Linked DNA regions of Homo sapiens: regions 2 and 3 are each linked to region 1. The links are contacts of gene promoters, found by promoter capture Hi-C in blood cells and fetal thymus (Javierre and others, 2016). All regions are on one chromosome and are shown on one strand. Each heading gives the region's core, a stretch centred on a gene start or on the middle of the fragment in contact. The rest is flanking DNA. Distances are from core to core; before and after follow the strand shown. Region 1 holds the start of SLC25A46 (solute carrier family 25 member 46). Region 2 holds the start of FER (FER tyrosine kinase). Region 3 overlaps PJA2 (praja ring finger ubiquitin ligase 2).

Region 1 (4,507 bases), core at 1,431-3,930:
GCCCATAACCAAATTTGCTCTAATTTTTTTCTAAAATAATTTTTCTTCTTACAAAAAAAAGCTAAGTTTTTAGAGCAATTAAATAAAAAGTGAAACTATGCAAGCCCGTGCTCAGACATAATACTATCATTTTAGCACATTCTTCTATTGTGTATCTTTAGTAGAATTTTTAAAAGGTAAGTTCATACTGTACATGTTTTAAATTGAACATGAATATTTTCATGTCATTTAATACTCATCTCTAATGTAATCTATAAACATCTTCACTCTAAACCCTTCTCATCTCCATTACACTATCACTCGAGATGAAATTATTACTATTTTTTGCCTCAGCTGCTTGCCTTTAGTAGGTGGAAGCCTTTACTCTTCCCCATACAGAGCCAGGTGGATTCCTATAAAACATCAATACAGTCACATTACTCCTCTACTCTCAAAAAACCTAAATTTTGTTCACCACCGACAAGGCTTTGCAAGATCTGGCACCTAGCCTCCTTTCAGCTCTCATTTCCTATCACTTTCACCCTTTCTCACTGGCTACCTAGTTTGCTATCGGGGCGTTTCTCTTGCTCAGCTCTGCCTGGAAAACTTCTCCCACATATTCACAAATGGCTCACTCCCTCACTTCATTCAGTTCTCTGCTCAAAGGTCACTTCTTCAGAGAGGACTTCCTTATTCTAAAAAAAAAAAAAAAAAGCTTCCTTTATTGCTCACTTAGGCTTTTTTAATACAATCATGTCATTATTTGACATTGCACTATATTTGACAGGATATATTTATCTGTTCTTTGTCTCCCTAAACTAGAATGTCAGTTCTAACAATGCAAGCACCTTGTCTGGCTTATTTATCATTCTATCCTTATTGCTTAAAATAGTATCTGACACGAGATAGGTGCTTAATAAATATATTTTTGTTAAACAACTGTATGGATATACACTTTAAATAATAAATTATTAATCAATAATAATTATTTGATATTTGCATTCCTGCTTATTTTTTTCCTATTATGAGCAAGCATGCCATAAACATATGTATGTTATCCATGCCAGAAACATGTAAAAAACCCCTATATTTGTTTTCTAAGATTTTGGAGTCAAAAAATATGGTTATTTTTACAGTTTTTGATACATAGTGCCAAACTGCTCTCCATCAGAAAGTTATGTTTTATATCACTTCAGAAATTAATGAAAGCTACTTTCTTCTCACCTGGAAAGACAATGTGCATTTTCCCTTTTAAACACCTTAATACGTGAAAGATAATTAAGATTTACCTTTTTTCAATTAGTAAAGGACTTTTTATATGATATTATCTATTTACACTTCCTTTTTTTGTATGAATTGCCTCTACATGTCCTTTGCTCATATTTCTGATTTGCCTTTATTCATTGGTATGAACTCTTTGTACATTAAAGCTACTGTTCCATTGTTTAAACCATGTTAAAATGTCATTTTTCTGTTTGTGATTTGCCTTTCAATTGTGATTACTATATATTTTAAAATTTACTATATGGACATTTAAATTTTATACAGTCAAGAGACTCAACACCTTTGCCCAAGCTGCATCGCAATCAAATTTAAGAATGTCAATTCGTTATTTAAAAATGTTAATTATACATTTTAATGTACGCTATCAAAATATCTCATGTAACCCATAAATATATACACCTACTATACACCCATAAAAAATAAAAAGTGATAAAACCACAGAAAAAAATGTCAGTTCAATCAAAACAAAGTTGATTATCACTCTCAATCAAGGTTCGCATCTGGAAGATCGAGAACTGCACGTCAGAGTTCTCTTGGAAAAGCTCTAGGAATCCTGGGCTTCCAACGAGTTGAAGGAACATAGGATGAAACCATGGAAGTCTTCCTCAGATCTGGGGAGGGAGCCTGGCCCAAGAGCCCGTGGAGCTAATGAAAACAGGTAGTAGGGGACGCTCTACAGTAGTCCTCTCAGTTATTCAATTAGAGGTCCCAATTTTGAACGATATAACTGGGATTTCAATACCCTGAGTGATTTAGACACATCAGAAAAAAATACGACAGAAAACTATAGTTTCTTTACAGCCTTAGAAAAGGAAAACGCGTAATTTCTAACTCCAGGAGGACAGTATTCGAGTACGTGGGTTTCTTTCACCCCCGACGTGCACTTCAACTTTTAAAATGCTTGCTCTGGTGGTCCACAGTACTTTCGCGTTCACTGGGCGGTACCATATCTCTCAATAGATTTGATCCAAAACCCCAAGTGCGGGAGACAAAGCTAGGTGGAACGTTATTAACCCTCCACAACTCCAACCTCTACTAGCTTCCTCGGAGCAGGCGAGGCACCAGGCCCGTGAGAAAACACTGAGATCTGGGGCGTAGCTGTGACATGGGGTATTTCTGGCCGGGATCTCACCGGGTAGGCTCCACCCGCGGGTTATCGGCTCCCTCCAAGAAGCATCTTTGAACTCCTCCCATGCAGGCCCTATTCCTACACCAGTTCTCTTTCTGGAATCTCTTTGGTACTGTGTTTCATTAATCCCACAACCATATTCCCACCTATTCCCTAACGACAACAAACTTTTAAGGTCCAGGTTACCGCCGCGTCTCCCTAGCAACCGTGCCCTTTAATGGTTGCCGGAAGAGGCTATAATCACGTGCTCCGAAGACTTCCGGGTTTCCAACGTGACTTCCGGTTGTCAGAATTTACCCCTGACGCGGCGGCGGCCGACGGGAAGCTGTGTGTGCTTAGGTCGTGGTGGCCCCGGTGGTGGTGGGCTCCGGGCGGGCTCGCGTCATCCTGCCCCCGCTGCGATGCATCCGCGGCGCCCGGACGGATTTGATGGCTTGGGCTACCGGGGTGGTGCCCGGGACGAGCAGGGCTTTGGCGGCGCCTTCCCTGCAAGGTCCTTCAGCACCGGGTCGGACCTGGGCCACTGGGTGACGACTCCCCCAGATATCCCCGGCAGCCGCAACCTGCACTGGGGCGAGAAGAGCCCGCCCTACGGCGTGCCCACCACCTCCACCCCGTACGAAGGCCCCACGGAGGAACCCTTTTCCAGTGGCGGCGGCGGCAGTGTGCAGGGGCAGAGCAGTGGTGAGAAGCATGGGGACCGACACAGGGATGAGGGGTTACTGGGGCCGCGGCTTGCGGCCTGCAGACCCCGGAAGCGGCGCAGAGGATCCCGCCTCCTATTCCTTCTCATCCTATCGCGCGCCACACCCTTTGCCCTCCTTTGGTCCTCTGCCCCTGAGGCTGGCCTCCTCTTCCTCACAAACGAATTCTCCTGGATCAACTCCAAAAAAGACATCTGCCTTAGCTATGGGGTGCATAGCAGGAATTTTTAGAGGTTTTGGTGTCTCAACTGATGGTCTGAGTTAAAAAGGAGATTGGATTATTAACTGTTCCCTGATTCACTTTGGCAGCTCTATTTTCTTGATTTAATTAATTAATTAATGTGTTTACTTGTAGTTTTGTGTTCTGAAAAGAGAAGCCTTTCAGCATAAGCATACTTGGGTTCAAACTTGGTTGTGCCACTCGTAATCTGAACAACTTAACCTCTGTGAGCCCTCAGTTTTCTCATCTTTAAGATGTGTAGAAGAATCCTGTATGGGACACATAGGCTAAAAAAAAAAAGTTTCCTTCCTTTTCCTTTTTGAACACAGGAGTTTTGTCTGCTTTTCAGATCCCCAGTCTAGAAAGTTTCCTTCCTATAATTTTCCTTTCTGCTTTCCTTCTGCTGACCTAAAAACTACATATAAAAGTTAGAAACACTGATACAATTTCAAGATAGGACTTCGGAATCATGACATAATTATTCTCCATGGGATGTCAGAAAAGCTGCAACACTGCATGATGTAGATATTTTCAACATCCTTTTTTATTCATAAAATGTGAATAATGGCTACCTCTTTCTATTCTTCTGGAATTGTTAGAATAATAGATTAATGGTATTAATATTAAATTTATTGTAGAAATCAGCTTTATTCTTATTTCCTCGACTTTGACTTGGAAGTACAATAATATTTAACTAAGAAGAACAGACTAACGAATGTCTAGTGAGTAAATGAGGATGTGAAGAAAGATAGATGACTTACCTAGCTAATTGTCATACAATTAGCTTTTTGACTCTTCCCGGTTTAAAGTTATGCTTTGGTGGTTACAATGAGGAGGAGTTCCTTGACACAAGCAGGGGTTTATTTTGCAGCCTTAACAGGTGGGTGAATGTTAATTTTGCAACAAAGATAGACACCTAAGAGACTTACACAGTAAACAAGATTAAACCTTCCTAACACCTTCCAGAAAATGCTAGTAGCATTTTCTGTTGCTATTTGGGGATGATCTATACATACAAAATGGGTAAGGCCGGGCGTGGTGGCTCACGCCTGTAATCCTAGCACTTTGGGAGGCCAAGGCGGGCGGATCACGAGGTCAGGAGATCGAGACCATCCTGGCTAACACGATGAAACCCCGTCTCCACTAAAAAATAGAAAAAATTAGCCGGGCGTGGTGGCGGATGCCTGTAGT
Region 2 (4,507 bases), core at 1,119-3,618, 2.0 Mb before region 1:
TTCAAAAAATAAAGGAAATGATTAAGCCATTTTGAAAATTTGAAATTTGGAAAGCCAAAACAGTCCTAAAGAAAATTTCACACAAATGTGACCTCTAGGAACAGTATTCATTCAAGAGAACAATTTTCAAAAAGAAAAAAATATATATCCACTGAAAACAAACACTGCAGCATGTATAGAATAAGGATAGATATGGTTTCCATATTGCATACCTCATCATGATCTCTATTTTAGGAGCAGTATGTGTGTATGGTTAGTTATGAATTGTGGATAGGTATGAATTGTGGATTAGAAAGCAGAGAGTCACAAATCAAAGGAGTTGGCAGAAAAGAGACACAGATGAAGAAAAGGAGGGAGGGGTAAGTATTGGAACTACTGAACTAAGATGGCACACAACCAAGATTCCTCTTGCAGTCTATACTTTTAAACAGGAAAAAAGGGAGGTGGAGAGATGGGGTGAGGCATGGATGGTGCTAATCAAAAAAAGTAAAAAACTTTTCAATCATTTTTTATTACCCACCTAGGTTTGATGTCCACATTATTATTTTCATTGTCCAGTAAGTAATGCTATTAGAACAGACAAAGTTTGGTATTTGAGAACATGGAATATATACTAAGGTGACACACAGTGTTTATTAAATGTGTTGCAATGCAATGTGATAATTCCAACAGAGGAAAAAAATGTGAAACTGGATTTGCTATATATTTTTGTATGCTTCAAAAATGCAGCATAGATTTTTGCCACATTCATTTACTTCAAGTATATTCTTTCACAACTGCATTTCCTAGCACAATGACTGGCATATGGTAGACAGCTTTTAAGGTTTTGGAATGAATAGGTGAGAACTCAGAGAACAATTGTAGATATGGAAAGATTCTTGCTGATTTTTCTAGATTTGGGTTCCTTAACACAAACACACATGTTGTGTATCAAACAGCTCTATTTCTACCATATCTTTATTGAAAGCTACTTTCTGCAAATATGTAATAACGTATTCACCAACCACATCTTTCTACATTTTGATTCCCTTTGTATAAATGGAGAAATTCTAAGGTTCTTGGGAAAGGTATTCAGTCATGAAGCAGTCTCCAAAGTTGTATTTTGGCCTTACCTAACCAAATTTTCATTCATTTCATTCTTATTGACATTACATATACTATAACATTTGATGTTCACAGAAAATTAACTTCTATTTTAAGAAGTTTACTCACAGAACCACAGTTTGTGCATTTAACAATCACTATGAAATACATATGAAACATTAACCATCATTTTAGAGAACAATTTAAAAACTCCGAAGTAACTACTTTCCTTAACTTTGTCATCCCAACATTCTGGGTATAGGCATTGTTGGAAAAATATAATTAAAAACCAAAATCTCCCAACCCAGAAATCCTCTCCACAAACGTTAGTAGACAAAACACTTTTATTACTGAATAAGCATTAAACGAGACTGTGATACACATCACAGGCAATTTGCTAAGAGATTGCAAAGACAGAAATCTTGCCCTTTTGTATAGCCAAGTATATACGACCCATTACATACACGTTTTCAAGTTGAACAATAACTAGTCCTCAAGTAAGAGGACCTGACATTTGTGACATTAACTTTACTTAATAATTGGGGTGACCATCTGTGTTAGTTAATTGGTTTTATCCAGAGGAAAAACAAACTTCTCCTGTCTTTATGACGGAAGGTAGTTTTGCAACACGGAGCAAGTTGCTCACCGAAGTTACGCTCCTACTCTCTCACAGAAACTGGGAGATAGGGAAGGATGCTACTCCGTTGATATGTGCAGCATTTCAAAAAAAAAAAAAAAAAAAAGGTCCAGAGACATTCCTGACTGAGCATACAGTTGACAAGACCTATCTAGTCCTCAAGTGGATTTATACACATTTCAAAGAGTTGAGAAAGTACTTAACAATTAAGAAAGTACTTAAGTTTTCTAAGACAAATGCTCGGAGAGAAAGGGACGGGAAATCTCATCCTCCATTTTCAATAGGGAGAATTAAGCCTCTTATTTAAAATTTTTATGTTGGTTTTTGTTTATTTAGCTTTAAAACAGTAGACTTAAAAAAAGTCCAACTTAAGATTTATGTTTTTTTATGTGTAGGGCTGTTCTCTACGGTTAAATAAATAACCCTGCTTAGAGAAAATATTCACCACTCTTCTTTGGCTCCTATGTAACTCAGTTTTTGAGAGGGAGGGGAAATACCGGATTGACGCTATGTGGTTCAACCAATGCAAAAGATAACACCGCCTTAAAAAGTCTACTACAGGAACATGGGAGGGTCACACCCTCGAATAATGACGCATACCTATCCTACTGTTACTGATCACCTAGTAATAATCTTGTAGTTCACATTACTCATTTTTCACCAAATTCTTTTGGTGAAGGACGCTTCAGAAACGGCCATCACTGAAGAGCAGACCCGTTTGGGTTCTCCACGCATTCTAGACTCCCGAAGAGGTAAGAATTTATTATAGGGGGCCACTCCCAGGACCTGCTGTATGCTTTTAAACATCCATTACAATTCCAGCATTGAGTTTCTAACATTTTTAGGCAGGCTCAGGCACTGGGAGTACAGGATTGAAAGACAGTTCCCGTCCTTAAGGGACTCAGAGTAAACTGGAGTTGCTGAAAACCATTCTAAAGCAATCCACGTTAATAACAGATACAAGTAAAACGTGGGAACGTACAGGAAAAAGTGACCAATTCTGAGGCTGAAAAGTGCCTATTTTAGGGGTGGGGGCCTCGCGGCCCTAAAGCAGCTTCCCTTCCCGGAGATTTCAGCTCCAGGGATCGCCCAGCGCCCTCCGGGCACACTTAACATTTTAATCACGCCTCCGCCCCCACTCTCCGAATTCCTTTCCGGCTGCCGACCCGCCGAGTAGTCCCTTCCAGGCGGCCTCAGCTTATCATCGCCGGTCCGGCCACTTCCCGGCCGCGGCCAGGCGAGCCTCCCAAAGTTTCCTGTGAGGCCTTCGTCCGTCTCCGGCCCCATCTCACCACGGCAGCCCAGGACACCCGCTAGGGAGGAGCAGGTTACCGAGGCGGGGAGAGCGGCACAAACGCGCAGACCTCGGGACTCCACCCGGGCTGGTGAGCGAGCCCAGAAAGCGGCGACCGCAGCTCCGCGTCTCCACTCCCAGGGCCCGCAGCTTGGGCTAAGCGTGCGCCCACCCAGCCTAGGGCCCAAGTCCTGCCCCTTCGGGGACCGGGCCAATCGGCCGCTCCCCGCCTCCTGGGAGGTAGTGGAGGAGGGGGCTGAGGGCCGGGCGGCTGCGCCCGCCTTCCGCTCTTGCCCATTGGCTGAGGCCTCGAGGGTGCCCGGAGACCGGAGTGCAGCGGGATTGGTTGCAGAGGTTCGTGACAGTGGCGCCTATTGGCTGTGGCAGCCCCCGTGACGCGGGGTGGTGACTGGCTCCGGAGTCTGAGGGGTTCGGGCTTGTCAGGTTCTAGGTAGGTGCGTTTCGCGCCGCCGGCGGTAGGCGCTGTTGCCCGGGGCAACGCGGGGGGAGGGGGGAAGAGGAGGGAAGGCAAGCCTAGAGCGGGGGCAACAATGCCTGCCCGCAGAGGGGCGCCCGGGATTCGGCCAGGGCGTTGGGGGCTGTGCCGAGGCTCTTCCTCCGCCCTCAGCCAGCGCCCCCCCCAACCCCCGTCCCTGGCTGCAGGGTCATCCGCTCATCCTCCCGCCCGCAGCAGAGCATTCCTGGTTGGGGCTTGGGCCGGGCTACACACCCAGCCCCACGAGGGCCGCCCCTCCCACCATCCCGGGACCCGAAGGCTGAGGGGGCGGGTGCCGGCGCGAAAGGGCTGTGGCGGGCGTAGTGGCTCCGCCCCGTCGCGGGGTCTGGGGGCTGATGGGCGTGAGGCGGGGTGGTGGGGGGACTGTGGGCACCACCCAATCTTGCCTGTACCCTCACCCCTTTTCTCGGCGGCACTCATCTGGGCGCCGCCGTCCCGCTACGGGGGCATTCTCAACCCCTGGTATTCCCCCCATCCCTTCCTGCTTCTGGAGCCCCGCAGTCTCCCTTGACCCGCTCGGTCCTCCCCAGCTCTCCTCCTATCTGTCACCTTCTCCCGCTTTTATCCCCCACCTCATCTTTCTCCTCCGGTCTTGGCCAGAGGTGTCCTCCAAGAGTCTAATCAAGAGATAGATCTTAAGTGTGAAGCTAGTGGTGTCGTCGGTAATTTCTGCTCTGTGGTCTCTTTGCCAGTTAGAATTGGGGAGATGTTTGGAGGCACCTTCAGGGGTCATCCTTCTGCCTTACAGTTACCCCTAGGATCTACTTTCTGAATACGCTCATTGGGTTGTGTTGGTAGGGGCAAGGTACTTCTTAAACAAATTGAGGATTGTACTATGAGGTGGGCACTTTGTACGTTTGCGATTTTGCCATCCACTGTAGTGCAATTCAAAATCTAATAATTTGTTACGGCTGGTAGCCTTACATTTTTTTCCTTCGCCTTATGGTTAAAAAAAGAGCAGCTTTTTAACCTTTTT
Region 3 (4,507 bases), core at 1-2,500, 1.3 Mb before region 1:
CCCATTTCTACAAAAATACAAAAAAGTTAGCCAGGCTTGGTGGCGTGTACCTGTAATCCCAGCTACTCAGGGGGCTGAGGCAGAAGAATCACTTGAACCCAGGAGGCGGAGGCTGTAGTGAGCTGAGATGGTGCCACTGCCCTCCAGCCTGGGCAACAGAGCAAGACTCCATCTCAAAAACAACAACAACAACAACAACAACAACAAAAACCTCTCAGCAATCCAAGAATAGAATGGGAACATCCTCAATATGATAAAAGGCCACTTGTCTTAGTCCATTAGGACTCCTATAACAAGCTCCCATAGACTGAAGTGGCTTATAAACAACAGAAATTTATTTCTCGGCTGGGCGCGGTGGCTCACACCTGTAATTCCAGCACTTTGGGAGGCCAAGGCAGGTGGATTACCTGAGGTAAGGAGTTTGAGACCAGCCTGGCCAACATGGTAAAACCCCGTCTCTACTAAAAATACAAAAATTAGCCAGGCATGGTGACATACGCCTGTAATCCCAGCTACTCGGGAGGCTGAGGCAGAATTGCTTGAGCCTGGGAGACCGAGGTTGCAGCGAGCTGAGACTGCCACTGCACTCCAGCCTAGCCGACAGAGCAAGACTCTGTCAAAAAAAAATAGAAATAAAAATAAAAGAAATTTATTTTTCACAGTTCTGGAGGCTGGGAAGTCCAAAATCAAGGTGCTGGTAGATTCAGCGTTTGGTGAGAGCCACTTCCTGGTTCACAGACTGCAGTTTTTTCACTGTGTTCTCATACGGCATAAGGGGATAGGAGCTCTCTGGGACCTCTTTTATAAGCACACGAATCCATTAATGAAGGCAGAAGCTTCATGACCTAATCACCTCCTTGAGATCCCCCTCACAATGGGGATTATGTTTCAATGCTATGAATTTTGGAAGGGACATAAGCATTCAAGCTATAGCACCACTCTATCACACTCAATAATGAAAGATTCAAAGCTTTCTTCTTAAGATCAGGAACAGAGAAGGATATCTGCTTTCACCACTGCTATTCAACATCATAATGGAGGTCTTAGCCAGTCTAAGAAGAAGAAAAGGTGGAAGGAGTTACATATAAATTCAAAAATAATAAAACTGATCTATATTTGCAAATAACATGATTGTCTACATAGGACAATTCCAGAGAATCTACAAAAAATTTACTCAAATGAATGAATTTAGCAAGGTTGCAAGCATCAAGGTCCATATGCAAAAACCAACTGTATTTTTACATATAGCAGTGAATAACTGGAAACTAAAATTTAAGAAAATTATCACTTATAATGGTATCAATTATTAAATACTTAGATATAAATCCAACAAAATGAGCAACATCTTCATGCTGCAACTACAAAATGCTGACAAAGGAAATGAAAGAAGACCTACATAAATGGAGACAACCTGTATTCATGAATTGGAAGACTCAAGATGTCGATTCTTCCTAAATTGATCTATGCATTCGACACAAACCAAATTAAAATCCCTTCAGGTCTTTTTGTAGAAACCAACACGCAGCCTCTAAAAGCTTTACGGTAAAGTTAGAATAGCCAAGGCAATTTTGAAAAAGAATAAAGTTCAAGGATTCATATTACCTAATTTCAATACTTATAAGTAAAAATAACCATGATAACTCAGTACTGGCAAAATTATAGGCATAAAGATCAAGAGAAAAGTACAGGAACAGATTTACATATATGATCAACTGACTTTTGACAAAGTTAATTCAATGGGGAAAGGAAAGTAGTCCCAACAAATGGTGCTAGAACTACATATACATTTGAAAAGAAAATGAGCCTTGACCCTTACTACACACCATATACAAAAACTAACCCAAAATGGATAATGTGCCTTGACATGAAAGCCAAAACTAGAAAACTTATAGAAAAATCCTAAGAGTAAATCTGCACAACTTTGCATTAAGCAAAGAGTTCTTAGAACACAGAAGCACAAATCATAAGAAAAAGTTGGTAAGATGAATTTATCAAAATTAAAAGCTCTTCTTTTAAAGTTAGGAAAATAAAAAAAAAACAAGCTTCAGATTGCAGTGTGTGTGTGTGTTTATGTATCTCTGTGTGTCAAATGAGTTGTATAAAGAATGTATTAAAAAATGCTTACAACTCAATAAGACAAACCCATTTTTTTTTTTTTTTTTTTTTGAGACGGAGTCTCGCTCTGTCGCCCAGGCTGGAGTGCAGTGGCACGATCTTGGCTCACTGCGAGCTCCACCTCCCGGGTTCACGCCATTATCCTAACTCAGCCGGAGTAGCTGGCACTACAGGTATCCGCCACCACGCCCGGCTAATTTTTTGTATTTTTAGTAGAGATGGGGCTTCACCGTGTTAGCCAGGATGGTCTGGATCTCCTGACCTCGTGATCCGCCTGCCTCGGACTCCCAAAGTGCTGGGATTACAGGCGTGAGCCACCGCGCCAGGCCCACCCATTGTTGTTTGTTTGTTTTTTAATGAGCAAAAAATGTCAACAGATACTTCACAAAGGAAGACATACACTAGAGCAAATTCTCAGCACCATTAGTCATCTGGTAAATGCAAATCAAAATCCCAGTATGATACTACTATATACCCACTAAAAGGGCTAAAATTTAAAAGACTGAAATAACCAAGTGCTGAGGATGATGTGGAGCAATTGGAACTGTCATACACTGCTGATGGATATGTAAAATGTGACAACCACTCTGGAAAACAGTTTGGCAGTTTCTTATAAACATCCATGTATCATACAACCCAACAAGTTCCATGTCTAGGTATTTACCAAGAAAAAAAAGATGTTCACAAAAATTCAAAATAAATGAATGTTCATTGAATAAAGGAATGTTCAACAAATGAAGGCTATTTATTAATAACAGCCCCAAACTGGAAACAATCCAAGTATCTGTAAATAGGTGGAATGGTCAACAAACTAGTAAATCAATACCAAGGACTTCTATTCAGCAATAAAATGAGAACCCGTTAAATACAGAAAAACATGGATAATCCTGAAAAACATGCCAAGAGAAAAAGCCAGATACAAAAGAGTATGTATTACATCATTCCACTTACATGAAATTCTAGACAAAATGATACCAATTTATAGCAAGAAAAAGATGATAAGTGCTTTCCTAGTCCTGAGGGTGAAATTGTGATTGACTGCAAAAGGGAACTTTGGGGGAGATGAAAATATTCTATATCTTAATTGTGGTATGAAAATATTCCACTCTTGACTGTGGTGGTGGTCACAGAGCACATATTTGTCAAAACAAAATACACTGTACATTTCAAATAAGTACATTTTACTGTATCTAAGTTATCCTCAATAAGGTTGATTTTCTAAGAGGGTGCTCTCTCAGGAAAATATAAACCAGGGAATACTGGTGATGCCCACATATACCCACCTCAAAAGATGTCAAAAAAATATATATAAGAAAACTCATTTATGGTTTTTAAAAATGTCAAAAACAACAACATAAGCATCTTGGAAAGCCAAGACTAGAAGGAAATATTTTAATATCAGCGGCTTTACCAGAAAGCTTCACCAAACATCATAATTAATGCTAAAACATTAGAAGCATTCCCCCTTAAAGTCAGAAACAATGCCATGTTTGTTGTTAGCTATCAGTGCTATTAGTTTTTAATCTACCAGTGCTCAACATTTTATAAGATGTATAATTGCAAAAGCAATGAGAAAAACACATAAGTTATAAAAACTGAAAAGGAAACCACAAAACTGTGAATATCTCCTGATAATCAACTCAATAAAATAATCTGATACATGATAGAAAACTCAAAAGTTTTGCTATAACCAGAGAAAACAGAGAGAGAGAAATGTTACTGAAAGTTTCCATCCACCACACGAATCAAACCATAAAATAGGAATACCAGGAAGGAATGTTATACGTATGAAGAAAAAAAAGAAAAACTATAAAAATTTCCCTAACAGTATAAAACAAGATGTGAATAAAATGGAGAGGCCACATTTCTGAGGAGAGAGACTCAATACTATAAAGATCAGTTGTCTCCAAATTAATCTAAAATTTCAATATAACCTTATTCAAAATAGCTAAGGATTTTTAGTTCAGTCTAAAGTTTACCTAGAAGAAGAAATGCATAAGAAACATTCAAGAATATTTTCAACAAGAGTAATAAAGAGGGAGAAAGGGTTACCAAAATTTAAAATATGCATAATCTTTTAACTGAGCAACTTCACTTCTAGGAACCCATGCTCCAGAAATAATCACACATAGAGGAAGTTTACTGAATTGTTAACAGTGGCTGACAATCAAGATGCAAGCAGGACTAGAAGTGGAAGCGGTAATTTTTACCTTACATTCTTCCATACTGTTTAATTTTTTAAAATCAAGGATGAATTAAAATTTGTAATTAAACATCGATCAATAAATTAGAAAGTTATTTTCATTATAAATCATCATTTGTAATAGCAAAAAGAAACTGCAATTAAATGTCTTTCAAAAAGGGAATAGAATAAATTATAGCCCATTCAAAC

Evidence for each region. The method cuts DNA at HindIII sites, captures the fragments that hold promoters and counts their contacts. A CHiCAGO score of 5 or more calls a contact.
Region 2: the fragment with the promoter of FER here is called in contact with the fragment with the promoter of SLC25A46 in region 1 in 7 of 17 cell types (total CD4 T cells, fetal thymus, activated CD4 T cells and 4 more); the score reaches 9.7 in total CD4 T cells.
Region 3: a contact is called between a fragment that was not itself captured here and the fragment with the promoter of SLC25A46 in region 1, in 1 of 17 cell types (fetal thymus). The highest score is 5.4, in fetal thymus.

What each region holds. Positions count from the first base shown.
Region 1 is chr5:110,736,327-110,740,833 of GRCh38, forward strand. It overlaps SLC25A46 (solute carrier family 25 member 46), which reads left to right and starts at 2,681. Exons shown (of 8, transcript NM_138773.4): 1 at 2,681-3,076. The coding sequence starts at 2,794. It also overlaps a transcript of TMEM232 not described here. RefSeq lists enhancers at 2,264-2,313, 2,564-2,693, 2,704-2,773, 4,018-4,507. The HindIII fragment of the contact is 3,989 bases long and covers 693-4,507 here.
Region 2 is chr5:108,745,529-108,750,035 of GRCh38, forward strand. It overlaps FER (FER tyrosine kinase), which reads left to right and starts at 2,369. Exons shown (of 20, transcript NM_005246.4): 1 at 2,369-2,472. RefSeq lists silencers at 3,136-3,235, 3,316-3,375, 3,506-3,915. The HindIII fragment of the contact is 11,506 bases long and covers 1-4,507 here.
Region 3 is chr5:109,403,896-109,408,402 of GRCh38, forward strand. The region is part of intron 1 of PJA2 (praja ring finger ubiquitin ligase 2); the gene reads right to left. Among named protein-coding and RNA genes, the nearest start is that of PJA2, 3.8 kb to the right of the region's middle. The HindIII fragment of the contact is 565 bases long and covers 969-1,533 here.